5 separate regions of the Homo sapiens genome follow, and all the other regions are linked to region 3. The links are contacts of gene promoters, found by promoter capture Hi-C in human tissues and cell types (Jung and others, 2019). All regions are on one chromosome and are shown on one strand. The core of a region is centred on a gene start or on the middle of the fragment in contact, and the rest is flanking DNA. Distances in the headings are between cores, read along the strand shown. Region 1 has its middle 29 kb from the start of JPH3. Region 2 overlaps ZCCHC14 (zinc finger CCHC-type containing 14). Region 3 holds the start of SLC7A5 (solute carrier family 7 member 5). Region 4 holds the start of MAP1LC3B (microtubule associated protein 1 light chain 3 beta). Region 5 holds the start of LOC124903748 (a long non-coding RNA gene).

Evidence for each region. Contacts are between HindIII fragments. The study calls those that stand out against the background at their distance.
Region 1: a fragment that was not itself captured here is called in contact with the fragment with the promoter of SLC7A5 in region 3 in 1 of the 25 tissues and cell types used here (dorsolateral prefrontal cortex).
Region 2: a contact is called between a fragment that was not itself captured here and the fragment with the promoter of SLC7A5 in region 3, in 1 of the 25 tissues and cell types used here (dorsolateral prefrontal cortex).
Region 4: the fragment with the promoter of MAP1LC3B here is called in contact with the fragment with the promoter of SLC7A5 in region 3 in 2 of the 25 tissues and cell types used here (lymphoblastoid cells and small bowel).
Region 5: a fragment that was not itself captured here is called in contact with the fragment with the promoter of SLC7A5 in region 3 in 1 of the 25 tissues and cell types used here (dorsolateral prefrontal cortex).

Annotation. Positions count from the first base shown.
Region 1 is chr16:87,572,292-87,574,991 of GRCh38, forward strand. No RefSeq gene overlaps it. Among named protein-coding and RNA genes, the nearest start is that of JPH3, 29 kb to the right of the region's middle. RefSeq lists an enhancer at 1-44. The HindIII fragment of the contact is 3,496 bases long and covers 1-2,700 here.
Region 2 is chr16:87,407,963-87,410,662 of GRCh38, forward strand. ZCCHC14 (zinc finger CCHC-type containing 14) reads right to left here. Exons shown (of 13, transcript NM_015144.3): 13 at 1-2,373. The coding sequence ends at 2,318. Among named protein-coding and RNA genes, the nearest start is that of MAP1LC3B, 17 kb to the left of the region's middle. RefSeq lists enhancers at 1-419, 1-179. The HindIII fragment of the contact is 7,604 bases long and covers 1-2,700 here.
Region 3 is chr16:87,868,223-87,870,922 of GRCh38, forward strand. It overlaps SLC7A5 (solute carrier family 7 member 5), which reads right to left and starts at 1,285. Exons shown (of 10, transcript NM_003486.7): 1 at 663-1,285. The coding sequence starts at 1,200. RefSeq lists a silencer at 1,249-1,598 and enhancers at 1,839-2,598, 2,043-2,700, 2,599-2,700. The HindIII fragment of the contact is 6,482 bases long and covers 1-2,700 here.
Region 4 is chr16:87,390,894-87,393,593 of GRCh38, forward strand. MAP1LC3B (microtubule associated protein 1 light chain 3 beta) reads left to right here and starts at 1,443. Exons shown (of 4, transcript NM_022818.5): 1 at 1,443-1,574. The coding sequence starts at 1,535. It also overlaps a transcript of FBXO31 not described here. RefSeq lists enhancers at 401-1,359, 2,576-2,625 and silencers at 876-1,525, 1,546-1,715, 1,826-1,955. The HindIII fragment of the contact is 8,903 bases long and covers 1-2,700 here.
Region 5 is chr16:87,538,206-87,540,905 of GRCh38, forward strand. LOC124903748 (a long non-coding RNA gene) reads left to right here and starts at 697. Exons shown (of 2, transcript XR_007065170.1): 1 at 697-1,146. RefSeq lists a silencer at 1,784-2,015. The HindIII fragment of the contact is 3,179 bases long and covers 1-2,700 here.

The DNA.
Region 1 (2,700 bases), core at 34-2,533, 300 kb before region 3:
TGGCCAGTCTGGTTTTGAACTCCTAACCTCAAGTGATCCGCCTGCCTCAGCCTCCCAAAGTGTTGGGATTATAAGCGTGAGCCACCGCACCCGGCCGATGCCTTCAGTTCTATATTTGTGCACCTTACACTCTGAGATCTCTCTCTCCAGCAGCTTCCTACCTGATTCATGAGGCCGTGATCCTCACAGGGCCTCCAGGCTTCTGGCCTTGCCCACGGCCTCCTACGAGCAATAACCACAACCCCACTGGGGCTCATGGACAGCGCACGGCCTGTAAGTAAGGCACAGGCAAGAGCACATGCAAACTTCACAGGGAGGCCTGGAAATGAGATTCTTGGAAGCTATGCTTTTCGAATAAGGAAACAAGCTCAGAGAGGCTGAGTGTCTCTCTGAGGTCCCACAGGTGCAGGTGCTGGAGCTGGGACTTAACCCGAAGTCCTGTTCCAGAGCTCTGCCCTCGCTCCTGTTACAGGTGTAGCCCCCTGGCATGGCCCTGCTGCCTGGGCTGGGGTCTGCCCAACGCTTCTGGTTCCCACCCACACTCCCCTCCCCAGGAAGATGCCCCTGAGAAGCTGGCCCACCTGGTTCTCTGCAGTCTCTGGCGCACCTGCCCCCTGACCTTCAGCCAGGTCCTGCCTCTAGGATGTTCACTCAGGTGAGAAAGCTGTCCAGAACCATGTGTATCTAGGACCAAACTTCATTGTACACACAAACATGCACTGCACAGTTTTACTCCATCTGTTACCAGGAATGCAAGGATTTTGCCGATGGAGGGGAGATTGCATTGTGTTCAGAACTTTGATTCAGAACAGAGCTTTTCACACTTTGGAAAACCACATCCCCAGTGGCCAAGTGGGGTAAGGTAGGTGAGTGCTCCAGGTGCTGCACTGGGGCTGGGTGCCGCCGTTTGCTGTCATGCCCACTGTGGGCCACCGTGGCAAGCAGATGACAGCCCTGTTCTCTCTTCCCCGGGGAGGCATGGAAACCCCATTATTTTATATTTATGTTTGTTCCTTTCTCATCAGCTGCGTATTACAGTTGGGGCATTATGTGGAGTTGAAGAAGGTGTTTTGTAGGTTTCCATGCATTTCATTTCAGGATAGCAATGGACATGTAAAGTTATTTGCTGTAAAGAAGGAGGTTGACCCCGTCTCTACTAAAAATATAAAAAATTAGCCGGGCGTGGTGGCGGGCGCCTGTAGTCCCAGCTACTTGGGAGGCTGAGGCAGGAGAATGTCGTGAACCCGGGAGGCGGAGCTTGCAGTGAGCCGAGATAGCGCCACTGCACTCCAGCCTGGGTGACAGAGCGAGACTCCATCTCAAAAAAAAAAAAAGAAGGAGGTTGATCTGTTGGGTTGAACACTACCAGCTGGGAGATGCACCCTTGGGGATGGACGAATGCTTTAAATTTTTTTTTTTTGCTCAGCCACTGCTTTTTTTTTTAAAAGCTTTATTGAGATATAATTAATATATTGAAATCTGGCCAGCTACAGTGACTCAGGCCTGTAATCCCAGCACTTTGAGAGGCCAAGGTGGGTGGATCACTTGAGATCAGGAGTTCAAGAACAGCCTGGCCAACATAGCGAAACCCTGTATCTACAAAAAAATACAAAAATTAGCCAGGCGCGATGGCACGCACCTGTGATCCCAGCTACTCAGGAGGTTGAGGCATGAGAATTGCTTGAGCCTGGGAAGTGGAGGTTGCAGTGAGCCAAGATCATGCCACTGCACTCCAGCCTGGGCAACAGAGCAAGACTCTGTCTTAAAAAAAAATCTGCACATATTTAATGCGTAATTTGATGAGTTTGGACATCGGCAAACAGCCGTGATACCAACACCATGATCAGGGAAATCAACACATCCGGCACCTCCAGAACACTCCCCATGTCCCCATTATTTGTGGTAAGAACATAGTGTGAGACCTGTCCTCAGTCTTTTTTTTTTTTTTTTGAGACAGTCTCGCTCTCTTGCCCAGGCTGGAGTGCAGTGGCGTGATCTTGGCTCACTGCAACCTCCGCAGGGTTCAAGTGATTCTCCTGCCTCACCCTCCTGAGTAGCTGGGATTACAGGTGCCTGCCACCATGCCTGGCTGATTTTTGCATTTTTAGTAGAGACAGGGATTCACCACGTTGGCCAGGTTGGTGTCGAACTCCTGATCTCAGGTGATCCGCCTGTCTTGGCCTCCCAAAGTGCTGGGATTACAGGTGTGAGCCACCATGCCCGACCTATTTTTTATTTTTATTTTATTTTATTTTGAGACAGTGTCTCACTCTGTCACACAGGCTGGAGTACAGTGGTGCATTCATAGCTCACTGCAGCCTCAAACTCCCAGGCTCAAGTGAATCCTCCCACCTCAGCCTCTCAAGTAGATGGGACCACAGGTGCGTGCCACTACACTGGGCTAATTCTTAATTTTTTTTGTAGAGATGGAGTCTCACTATGTTACTGTCTTGAACTCCTGGCTTCAAGCGATCCTCCCGCCTCTGCGTGAACTATGGCACCCAGCCCCCAGTGATGTTTTTATGTGATTTCTTAAAATTAGGATCCACATATTATCCACGCTGTGCATCTTGTGGTTCTGTTGCTTTTCCCTCCCTGGTCCCTTTGCCACTCCCCTAGCCTACCCCACCCTAAGACAGCAGGGACACCCACTTTCCCTGTGCAAAGCGACTTTCCCATCTCCCATCTGTGCATCCAACC
Region 2 (2,700 bases), core at 147-2,646, 460 kb before region 3:
GGACGGCCTCCCTGGAGATGTCACACGCCGCCCATGCACGTTCAAGACGACTGGCAGCTCCGCAGAGGCCTTCGCTGCTGGGAACACAGCCGTGACAGTGTCGGAACTCATCTACCTCAACGCTGAATGGCAGGCTCCAAGTTGAAAAGTTTCTGTTTTAATGTTTTGCTGGATTTAAGGTTAACCTCTAATACTTATCAAAATAGTTACGTGGGTAACAACAGACGCTTTCATTCCCCTATACTGACCACTAAAACAAAAATTCCAATGTTTTTTCCTTTTGTTATGAGACGGTTTTCAACAATTTCAGTGTTGAAATAGGATTTATTTAAAATATTTCTTTGCTTAAAAAAACCAAAAAATTTAAAAGTTTGGCTTTCAGCACATATCCAGGCCACTGTAATGGCCTTCAGAAATATTAAAATCGTAAACATCAATGAACACTCTAAGTCTTCCTTAAACGTAATATGAGAAGGTCCAGTCTAGTACTCTTTAAGGCAAAGTTGTGTCAGTTCTCATTATTTTGACATTTTGTAGTGTTTACAATTTAAGAGATCAACGTAACATTCCCCTAAATAGCTGTTGTAATAAGCATCACCATTACTTCAACACTGTAATACTGTGTACCATGAGGAGAAGAGGTCTGTTAATTCTGCATTGCATAGAAATAAAATTCAACTAAAATAAAACTAAAAAATTCTACTAAAAGCCTGTCATAAAAAAAATGTAACAACTTTCTGCTTTAGTTTCTATGAAGTTAGGAACTGCTCTTCAAATTGAACGCTCACATCACAAGGCCTCATTCTAGGGTATTCTTCTGATTTACATCAATTTTTCATGAGGCTGATTGTCCCATTTTAAGAATAGTCTGAATATTATAATTTTTTTTAAAATAAATATCCAACTGCAAAATCCCAACTGCAAGATTTTACCAATCAGTATTTTAACATTGAAGACTTTAGCATTTTCGATAAGAGTATTATTTGAGCAGAAAATTCCCTTTAACCTTGAAGATTTAAGTCCGTAAATTTCAGACAAAAGGCTTTCATTTCCGTGGGTTGAAATTTAGAGATCTACAGTGAGGACTTTTATTACTACCTAACCAAAACCAGACTTGCACAGATCTCGCAGCTCTCGGGTGTGTGGCCTCTTCCAGAGTCCTACCACTTCCCACTGTTTTCCAAGTAATTTTTAACGGAATTAACTATCAATACACAGCCTAATACAAAAGAAGTTGACAGGAGAAAATTCCCAATCTTTTGCTGATAAATGACAGGACTGTATCATTGTTGAAATGTCTGTCTCAGGTGTGAATCCGCTAGCGATAAGCCTCGGGGTTGGAGGTTCTTGGGGAGCCCGTGGGAGATAAAGCAACTTGCAAACTCTGCTGAGGACGTGCAGCATCCTCACAGCCACTCACAGAGCCGCGCTGTCGCCGTCCCCCCTCGAGAGGTCATTTGTAGTGGAAGATAGGGCTCAAAGCCACTGACTGGCTGGGAAGAAAGATACTCTCAAAGCTTTGACGACTATGGATTCTCTGGGACTTGGACCCTTAGAAATTAAGTTGTTGCGAGTAAACTATTTCTATTTAATAACGTAGTTTAGATTTATTTGCAGAAAAAAATTAAAAACCTGAAACTGCTACAAGTGCTTGGAGGAGGGAAGGAAATACTAAAACCTCTGTTGCGTCCTAAGTCGAGTAGCCTCTGCTGGTGCTGACTCTTTCAATATGGATTATTGGAGTCTCTTGCACTGACTGTTCTCAGAGGAGTTTGGCTCCCAGAACCGCAGAGATTTACATCAGGGTACATTCTTCTGTAGTGCAATCCTTAAAAATCCCAGAGATTAGTGCTAATCACTTTAGGAACAGAACAAAACAAAGTCGACATTTTCCCTAGCCCAGGGGTGTCAGGAGTCCGGCGGGTGGAACTCCACTTGGAGAACTCCAAGCTCGGTTCTCGATTCAGACCACGTGTAGCTGCCCTGGAATTGACGTGTGAGCCTAGGAGGGCCAGTGATGGCAATGCTCTTCGGGAGACATGGCGTCTCTGCACTGCAACCAAAAGTGGAGGTGGCCGATCTCACCAGCCACAGAGATGCCCACTAGGCGAGTTCTGACACCAAGCTCCAATCTAGGGTTTTGGCAATAAATCGAGTTTGATGCACTTCTACGCTAGATTTTCTATCCAGTCTAGGAAAAGTAAAGCACCTTTGGATTAAAAAGATTAAGCTCAACAGCAACTAGACTTCTCAGTTTTGTATTTAATTTTCCTTATGTCTCCATGGCTTAATAACGTTCTGTTGCCAGAGAAAAATATCAATCTGTGGAGTCCAGACTTTCTGCTGGAGGGGCGTATTTCAACCTAAAAGTACCTAGAGAGAGGGGAAAAAAGAGGTCAAATTTGAATGACTGTAGAATCACCACCAACCACCAATCTGTCCAGTCATGTCCAGAGCCACTGGGCAAGATTCTGGTGCTGGAAATCTAGGCCACCCATCCTGACCGTTTCTACTCCCTTCCTGCCCCTGCAAAATGGGACCTAATTTTACAAGTTTATCAAATCTGACCGGGGTGAAATGACTCAGGAAAAGTTCACCATCTTTTTCTTTGGGAGCTTCCTCTGGGAGTCAGGCTCTGCACACGTCAGGCGGGCTGCTCTAACATGCGTCCTTTCACTGGGTGAGGGCAGGTGAGCGCTG
Region 3 (2,700 bases), core at 35-2,534:
GCCCCATGGCTGTTTCCCAGAGAAACCTGGGACCCGCACGTCCATTCACTGCAACACAGACTGAATCTGCAGCCAAGCTCCGCTCTCTCACTACTGGGAACCCTCAGGGGGGATCCCTTAGCCTAAATCAGCACCAGTCACTACCCGCACACGATGTTATTACTACTGTTTTCTTATGAGTCAGCCCGTGTCACTGATTCCTGACGAGCTGGTGTGGAGAGCAGAAATGAATGATTTTTTTTTTAACTGCAATTTCCTTCTCACCAACCAGTCAGCAATCGGAGCTCTAACAGTAAACCGATTGCTCAGTTACTCCACGTGGGTGCCACGCAAGAGGCTGGGAGTATTGCTCAGCGGGGCCAACGGGAGGGTGGCACTTGCCTAAACCGCTTAAGTGGGGGAATGGAATGCCCACCGAAGGGCAGGGCAGGGACCCTGCTGTCCCGTCACTGAAGATATTCCCAGCCTGTGGGGAGAAGTGTAAAAGAATGAATGAAAGAAACGCACGTGGTTTCTGGGACCAATGACCTTAGCCTAGAACTGCCGGGATGGTCCAGGAACGTAAAGATGTAGAGATGTGGGAGCCAGGGGCGTAGTGATGCAAGGATGCAGGGACCCAGAGACTACGACCTCCCAACCCCCGGCCCGCGCCCCGTACTCACGCACGCAGAGGCAGGCCACGAGCTTGGCTGCCTCCTCGGGCACCGGGCAGGTGGGGAAGAGCGGCTTGAGCAGGTAGGTGGCGAAGACCAGGGCCACGATGTACTGCGATGAAGGCCGGATGATGAGCAGCTCGATCCAGAGCTTGAGGAAGGCGGGCAGCGAGCCGTAGACCTCCAGCATGTAGGCGTAGTCGCCGCCCGATTTGGAGATGGTGGTGCCGAGCTCCGCGTAGCAGAGCGCGCCCACGATGGAGAAGACGCCGCACGCGGCCCACACCACCAGCGCCAGCCCCGGCGAGCCTGCCTCCTTGAGCACGCCCGTGGGCGTCACGAAGATGCCCGAGCCGATAATGGTCCCCACGATGATGGCCACGCCGTTGAGCAGCGTGATGTTCCGCTGCAGGGTCACGCCCTCGCCCTCGCCTGCCGGCGCCGAGCCGTCCGCGCTCTTGGCGGCCAGCATCTTCTCCCGCGCCTCTTCCTTCTCCTCGGCCGCCGGCGCCGCTAGCGCGCGCCGCTTCGGGCCCGCACCCGCCATGCTCTGCGCACCGGCCGGGCCTGGGACACCCGGGAGCCGCGGCCCAGCGAGCAGTGTGCGCGCCGCCCGCCGCCCGCAGCTGCGTCAGGAACCCCGCCCGCGCCGCCTTTTAGGCCCCGGCCCGCCGGCCCCGCCCACCGTCCGCGGCTCCTCCCCGCCCCGTGGCCCGGCCCCGTCCCTCAGCCCCGCCCCCTCGGCCCAGCTCGGAGCACGTGCGTCGTCCGGCCCAGCCTGGCGGGCTATTCCCAGGCCCGCGTGGTCCTCGAAGGCCCCAGTCCTCCTGCGCCATGGAGACCCCGGCCTCGCGACCTCCCCCCTCCCGGCGCCCGCGTCATCCCAGCCCGTCCTCCCGGATGCGCCTGGGCGGGGCCTGGCAGTCAGGGCGCGCCCCTTCACCCACTGGCCCGCAGCCTCTCGTCAAGCCTGGGAGCGGGCAGTGCACCAGGGCTGGCCTGAGGCCAAGGATGGAGTTTGGGGTACCCCCCGAAGGGAACCTAGGCTCCTGTCCCGGATGGGCCGAGGGGATGGAACCGCCCCCACAACCAGCTCCTGGGGCACGGGGGAGGGATGAGAGGATGACCTGAGGGGAAGCTCCTGCAGCCTCCTTCCAGCCTGGGGGCTGCATCAGTGGGGCTGGTGAGCCGCGAACTGGGACGAGGGAAGAACCGAACCGAGGCCACCCAGTAATTCCCATTGTATCCCAAAAGAATCTTGCCAAAGACGGCGATCCGGTGCCCGTAGCTTTGAGAAGCAGTAATAACACAGGCTTTGGGAAGCCAGCAATCTGCCTGAGCTCAATTTAATCAACAGAACCGGGGGTTCGCTGGGAGCCATAAGACCCCCACCCCCAAATCTACCTGGGGAATTCAAAGGCAGGCTTCAGTGTGAAGGGGCTTTAAAGCTTGTTATTCCTAGGGAATGCGAGAGGCATCTTAGCTAAAAAGGGTTGAGAGGTAATTTCAGTTAGAGGCGAGAGCAGGATGCCAAGGCTCCTAGGCCTGGAAATGGGAAGGAATATAAATACTGCCCCGAGATTGACCAGACTGGTGAGCGGCCAAAGACCTGTTCAAAGGGTGTGTGTGGGTCAGGGAGGAAGCTCCTCAGTATCACCCCACCCCGGGGTTCCTTGGCGTGTGTGCAAACGAGTCCTTGGAAGCTCACAGCAGGCATGTGGGGAGGCCTTTGTTCTGGGTGAGCGTTCAGCCTCCCAGGGCAAACACGCAAACACCGGTTGCAGAGCTGGGTGTTCACAGCAAGACAGTCTGCTGGGCAGATGCCTCTGGAATCCACAGAATTCTGAACAATAGCCGTGGTGGAGGGGGGTCAGAATCCCTGTCGTGCTGGGACCTCTAGCTGCAGCCAGGAATGTCCAGGCCCCACCCCAGGGAGGGGGCGGCTGAGGAATGCCAGGGCTTGTCATTCTGGACCTTGCTCGCCCCCCGGTATGTCGGGCATTCCTCTGCGGTGATAAAACCGAGCGAAATCTCAGCAGCCCAGGCA
Region 4 (2,700 bases), core at 193-2,692, 480 kb before region 3:
CCGCTATTTTCATGTTTTGTATGATTCAAGCTTACAGTGTAGAGTGTATTAGCCTAATCCAATTACTTTATCCAATTGGGATAGAAGAAAGGCTTTTACAAAGTCAAAAGGAGAAATCCTGGAACTATGGGGCTCTTTCAAAGTATTAGATGTTAAAGAACAAAAACAGCCAAATAGCCGGGAGCAGTGGCTCACGCCTGTAATCCCAACTCTTAAGGAGGCCGAGGCGGGAGGGTTGCTTGAGGCCAGGAGTTCAAGACCAGCCCGGGCAACACAGCGAGATCCCGGCTCTACTCCCAGCTTCTCGGGAGGCTGAGGCAGGAGGATCCCTTGAGCCCAGGCGACCGAGGCCGCCGCGAGCTATGATCGTGCCACTGCATTCCAGGCTGGGCAACAGAGCAAGACCCTGTCTCAAAAAAACCCCAAAGAATCTAGTGCTGTTCCTACAGAGACACATTGGCCACAGGCTGAGGTGGGCAATAGCAACCAAATATCGCATGGTGGTTTACGCACTGCAGCCCATTTGGAGTCCTCAAATATGACTGCCCTTTCACAGATGAGTCTGAGACTCAAAAACTGTCACTAGCGTAAGGTTGTCCAGCGAGTTTAGTGGCTGGGAGGCTGAGGGGTAGACAGGGCGGCTAGCGATGTGGGGCAGGCCTGGCAGTCGCCACAGACGACCTAACGGTAGGAAAATCTTACAGCCACCAGGAGAGTTCCAGGCGCCGCGGCAGGGGGACTGGGAGAGGGGACTGCGCCCAGAATGAAGGCTCGGGACAAAAGCAGTTGCGCAAACGCGCCAAGGCTGGGCGTCGAGTGACCGCGGGCGGAGGTCACCAGCGGCCACTCCCCGGAAGCCACCCACGGACCACGCGCGCCCCTGCACGCAGAGGGGGCCAGGGCTCCACGGGCGAGCGGCGACCCTGCCTCCCGGAGACGGCGCGGCCTGCCCTGCGCGCCTCAGCCCCGGGTGCCGGCGTCTCGGGCAGCACCACCAAGTCTCTCTGGAGGGGAAAGGATGGTCGGATTTGCCCCATGTCCCTTCCTCTGACCCCTCCCTCAAGAGTGCCCCGGGACACCCCGCCTGTGGCTCAGCCTCCCCCGCCCCGCGCTGCCATCTCCTCAGGGCCGGGCAGCAGGCTCCCGAGCGCCCACAGACCCGGGGTGCGGCCCAGCCCACAACCGTCACCTCAGGGGCCTCAGGCGCCCAGCGGTGCTGGGCGGGGCTGGGGCACGACCGGGAGCATGCGCAGAGCGCGCGTTTCGCCCATCGCGCACGCGCACACACCTGCTCCGCCCCCACGCTGCGTGCCGCTGCTGGGTTCCGCCACGCCCGTCATGGCGGCGGCCCCGGCCGGCTCTGGCCCCGCCCCTCGGTGACGCGTCGCGAGTCACCTGACCAGGCTGCGGGCTGAGGAGATACAAGGGAAGTGGCTATCGCCAGAGTCGGATTCGCCGCCGCAGCAGCCGCCGCCCCCGGGAGCCGCCGGGACCCTCGCGTCGTCGCCGCCGCCGCCGCCCAGATCCCTGCACCATGCCGTCGGAGAAGACCTTCAAGCAGCGCCGCACCTTCGGTGAGTGTCGCCGCGAGGGCGGCGGGTGCGGCGGGGCCGGGGTCCGAGCTGTGGAGGGCGGCAGGGCCTGGGACGCCGTGAGGGGTCGGGGCCGAGCCGGGAGGCCGAGCGGGGCCGGTGGCTGCCGGCCGGCGGGGCCGAGGGATGCGGGGCCCGGGGCCCCGTGAGGGACCCAGGCCGGGACCGAGCCGGGAGGGCCAGGGGCTGGTCTGGGCCGGGGCGGCCTGCGGACCTCTCGGAGGCCTGGGAGGAGGCAGCCGGCGGAGGGCGGGCGGGGGCCGGTGCGCTCGGGGCCCCGGGCCTGCTGAATCACCCCGCGCCCTCCGCGGCGGGGTGCCTGCCGTACCCCGGCCACCGCCGCCCCCGCAAGCGCGCTGCGGGCGAGGGTCGCGCTTCTGGGGCCCAACAGCCCCCGGGGCCGCGCTGGGCCGTTCGGCTCTGAAGCGGGGCTGCGCCGGGACCCAGCGCGTCACCTTCAGGGCTGGTTTTCCCGTCGAGGGAGCCCGCCCGGGTGCGAGTGCCTCTTACAGACCTCAGTGCCTCGGTCGAGAGGAGGGGAATGTGCTGGGCCCCGGCCTCGCCGCGCCCGGGACGGCCCACAGCGGTGTTGCCAGTTCCTGTCTGTAGCCCAGGAGCTGGGGTGGGAGACTTCTCTTGGGTTTGCGATTACGTTCTCACCTTGGCACCAGGAATACCGAATACATCCCTTTTCTGCCGGTTCAGACTGGAAACCCAGCTTAGGTGTGCTGGCATTTGGTTAAACGTGCAGGTGTCACCATCACAATATTTACTCCACGCAGATGATGCGAAGTGATTATTTCCCGCTTGAGCAAGAGAACGCCGCAGATCCAGGTATCTGTTGTTGCCTAAGTTCCAGACACCGGTTTGGAAGGGAAGCACCGTGTTCATCGCGGTGGACTGCGAATGCCTGCCGCCATCCTCGTCAGGAGCCCACACAGTGGTGCTGTTTGTCTGCTTTTGCCTAGTTTCCCGGAGTCTAGAAAGAGTTTAGCATTCATTTGAGTTTGGATATAGTTTTGCAGGTCTCATTGACCATTATTTTTTTTCTTATGCCTGAGAAACTTAAGCAAATTAAAATGGACCTTAGCTTGCCAAGCATATCTTT
Region 5 (2,700 bases), core at 30-2,529, 330 kb before region 3:
AAATAGATATGTATTTTTGATGTCAAAGAAACTGTTTTCATCAACTGTGGGAAAAACCCTGAGACTCACTTATAACCGCTGACCTCAAACACCCCCAAGTCTAAATTGTTTCCATCTCCCTGAATCCAAAACTCCAGCTGACGAGCACTGAGTGTTTATGTGAACATGGCCACATCCAAATGACCAGGCAGCCCTATAGCTCCTCACAGTCAAGTTCCTGTACGGTTTCCTCAAGATGCAAAAACATTTTGAAGTATGAGATTCGAGCTTCATACCCTGCCCAAGCCTTCTGTTTAAAGGTGGAATGCATTCCCTGCTTTTTTTCTTTTTAAATCTGCCCCCTTCTTGGTTTCTAATGACATTTGACATTTGACGTTCACCACTGCTGTGAGTTCTCCTCCGCCACTGTCAACACAGCCATGCCCAGCTACTAACGCAGAGACAGCAATGCTCCAGGCCAGAGCATATGTTGGAGACCTACATTCATTTCATAAATGTGAGCAACACAGTTTCCCATTCCTTTTGACTCATTTTTTCCTTCCTTTTCTCCACTTGCCAGTTGGGGTGGACTCCAGCGTGGCTGAGGGCAGACGCCGCCGCCCCTGAGAGCTGCTTCTGGTTCACGTGGCTTCTTAGAGAACCACAACTCCAGCCCTCCTCTCTGTAGGGGACACAAATTCACCGCTTGCCCTTTGTCCCCAGAAGATGTTTTCTAACAGCCCAAGGGCCGATCCGGAATCAGAGAAAAACACTCCGTGGGGGAGGCCAGAGGAATATTTAGTTTGTGTTTTATTAGCCCTTGCTGGGTCTCCAGATCTGAACCCCGGCGGGGCCTGTGTGCTCAGATCTTCCCACAGCGTACCCCTGAAGCCCAGCTCAGGCAGCCTGAGGATTAGAATAAATGAAAATCATTATCTGAGCTGTTTGGCACACGTGCGTGTGCAAGAGCCAGGGGCCATTTTCAAGGGAAAATGCCCGTTGCAGTTTCCTAAATCCTTTCTCATTTTTGACTTATTTGATCCTGGCAACAACTTGGTGAGATTGGTTTATCCGTGAGTCCATTTCACAGGCAGGAAAGTGGTGTCGCAGGGAGGCCGAGTGACTTGTCCACAGCCACGCAGCTGGGAAACGGGGAGACAGATTCAGGTGAGGACCTGCTGCCTCCGCGGTGCGGGGTACACCTTTCTCTCTCTTCCTCCTGCCTCCTTTCCTCTTCCTTCCTTCTTCTCCAAACTTCCACTCACCTATTTTTAAAACTCTTTTTGGAGATGGGGTCTGGCTATGTTGCCCAGGCTAGACCCAAGCCCCTGGGCTCAAGCAGTCCTCCCACCTCAGCTTCTTGAGTAGCTAGGATGACAGGTGCATGCTACCACACCTTGCTCAACTATTTTTAATTGAAAAATTAACATACACAAATGGTTAAACAACCACAACCAAACAGTACAGGAAAGGATGTCCTGAAAAGTAAGCTTCCTTCCACCCCAAATCTTCAGGGTCCCAGAGCCCCTTTTTCTAGCTATGTGTGTGCATATGTGCTCGTGCACACATATGTGTATGCACACTTAGGTGTGCATGTGTGATACATTACTCGGCCTCCTACACAGACAGTAGCAGCCCATGCGCTGGGTGCCTCTGGTTCTTCTTATTTCTCTCTCTGTCTCTTTTTTTTTTTTTTGTTTTTGAGACAGAGTCTTGTTCTGCCTTCCAGGCTGGAGTGCAGTGGCACAAGCTCGGCTCACTGCAAACCTCCACCTCCCGGGTTCAAGCAATTCTCGTGTCTCAGCCACCCAAGTAGCTGGGATTACAGGTGCCCATCACCACACCCAGCTAATTTTTGTATTTTTAGTAGAGACAGGGTTTTGTCACGTTGGCTGGGCTTGTCTCTAACTCCTGACCTCAGGTGATCTGCCCGCCTCAGCCTCCCAAAGTGCTGGAATTACAGGCGTGAGCTGCCACTTCCAGCCCTTCTTATTTCTCTTGAAAGCTGTTCTGTGTCCACATGGATGGAGCCACCACGCTTTTTGCTGACTGCACAAGAGCTCTCAGTGCATGGGGAGTAGGCTGTCCTTCTCCACTCCTCTCCACCAACAGGCATGAGGCTGCTCTCAGTCTCTGCTGTAATCAACGCATGGCGTGGGTCATGCCTTTGGCACATATATGCCTTTGTGCCCCTATGCCAGTGCCTCACTCAGGAAGAATCCTCGGAGGAGAACTGCTGCGCAAGAGGATTTGCCGTTGTCAGTGCCGGGGCTGTGGTTAAATTGCCTCCCCGTAGGCTGCACTTGCTCACACGCCTGCCCTCCCGGTGTCAGGGTCATGCCCCTCACTCCTAACGCCATGCAGCACGTAGCCATTCAGGGGCCCTTTGGGGGCCCCTCCCAGCGAGCTCACTCTAATCAGAGACAGCAAAGGTGTTGGATCTGCTTGATTTTCAAATGATTTACCCAGAAGCATCCACCCTCTCAGCCCCTAGTGTGGGGAATATGAGCCCTTCCCTGGAAACACTGCTAGAAAAAGAAAAAAAAAAAAAGGAAGAGAGAGAGAGGGCTCATTGAATAGGGCATCCCTAAAACGTGGACAGAGGAAGCAGAGAGAATGGAGTCCAAACACTCAGATCCTGTTGTCACCCCACCAGGGTCTACCCAGCAACGCCGAGACACTGAACAGGGCCCTCGTGAGTGCCTAGAAACGGTGGTGATC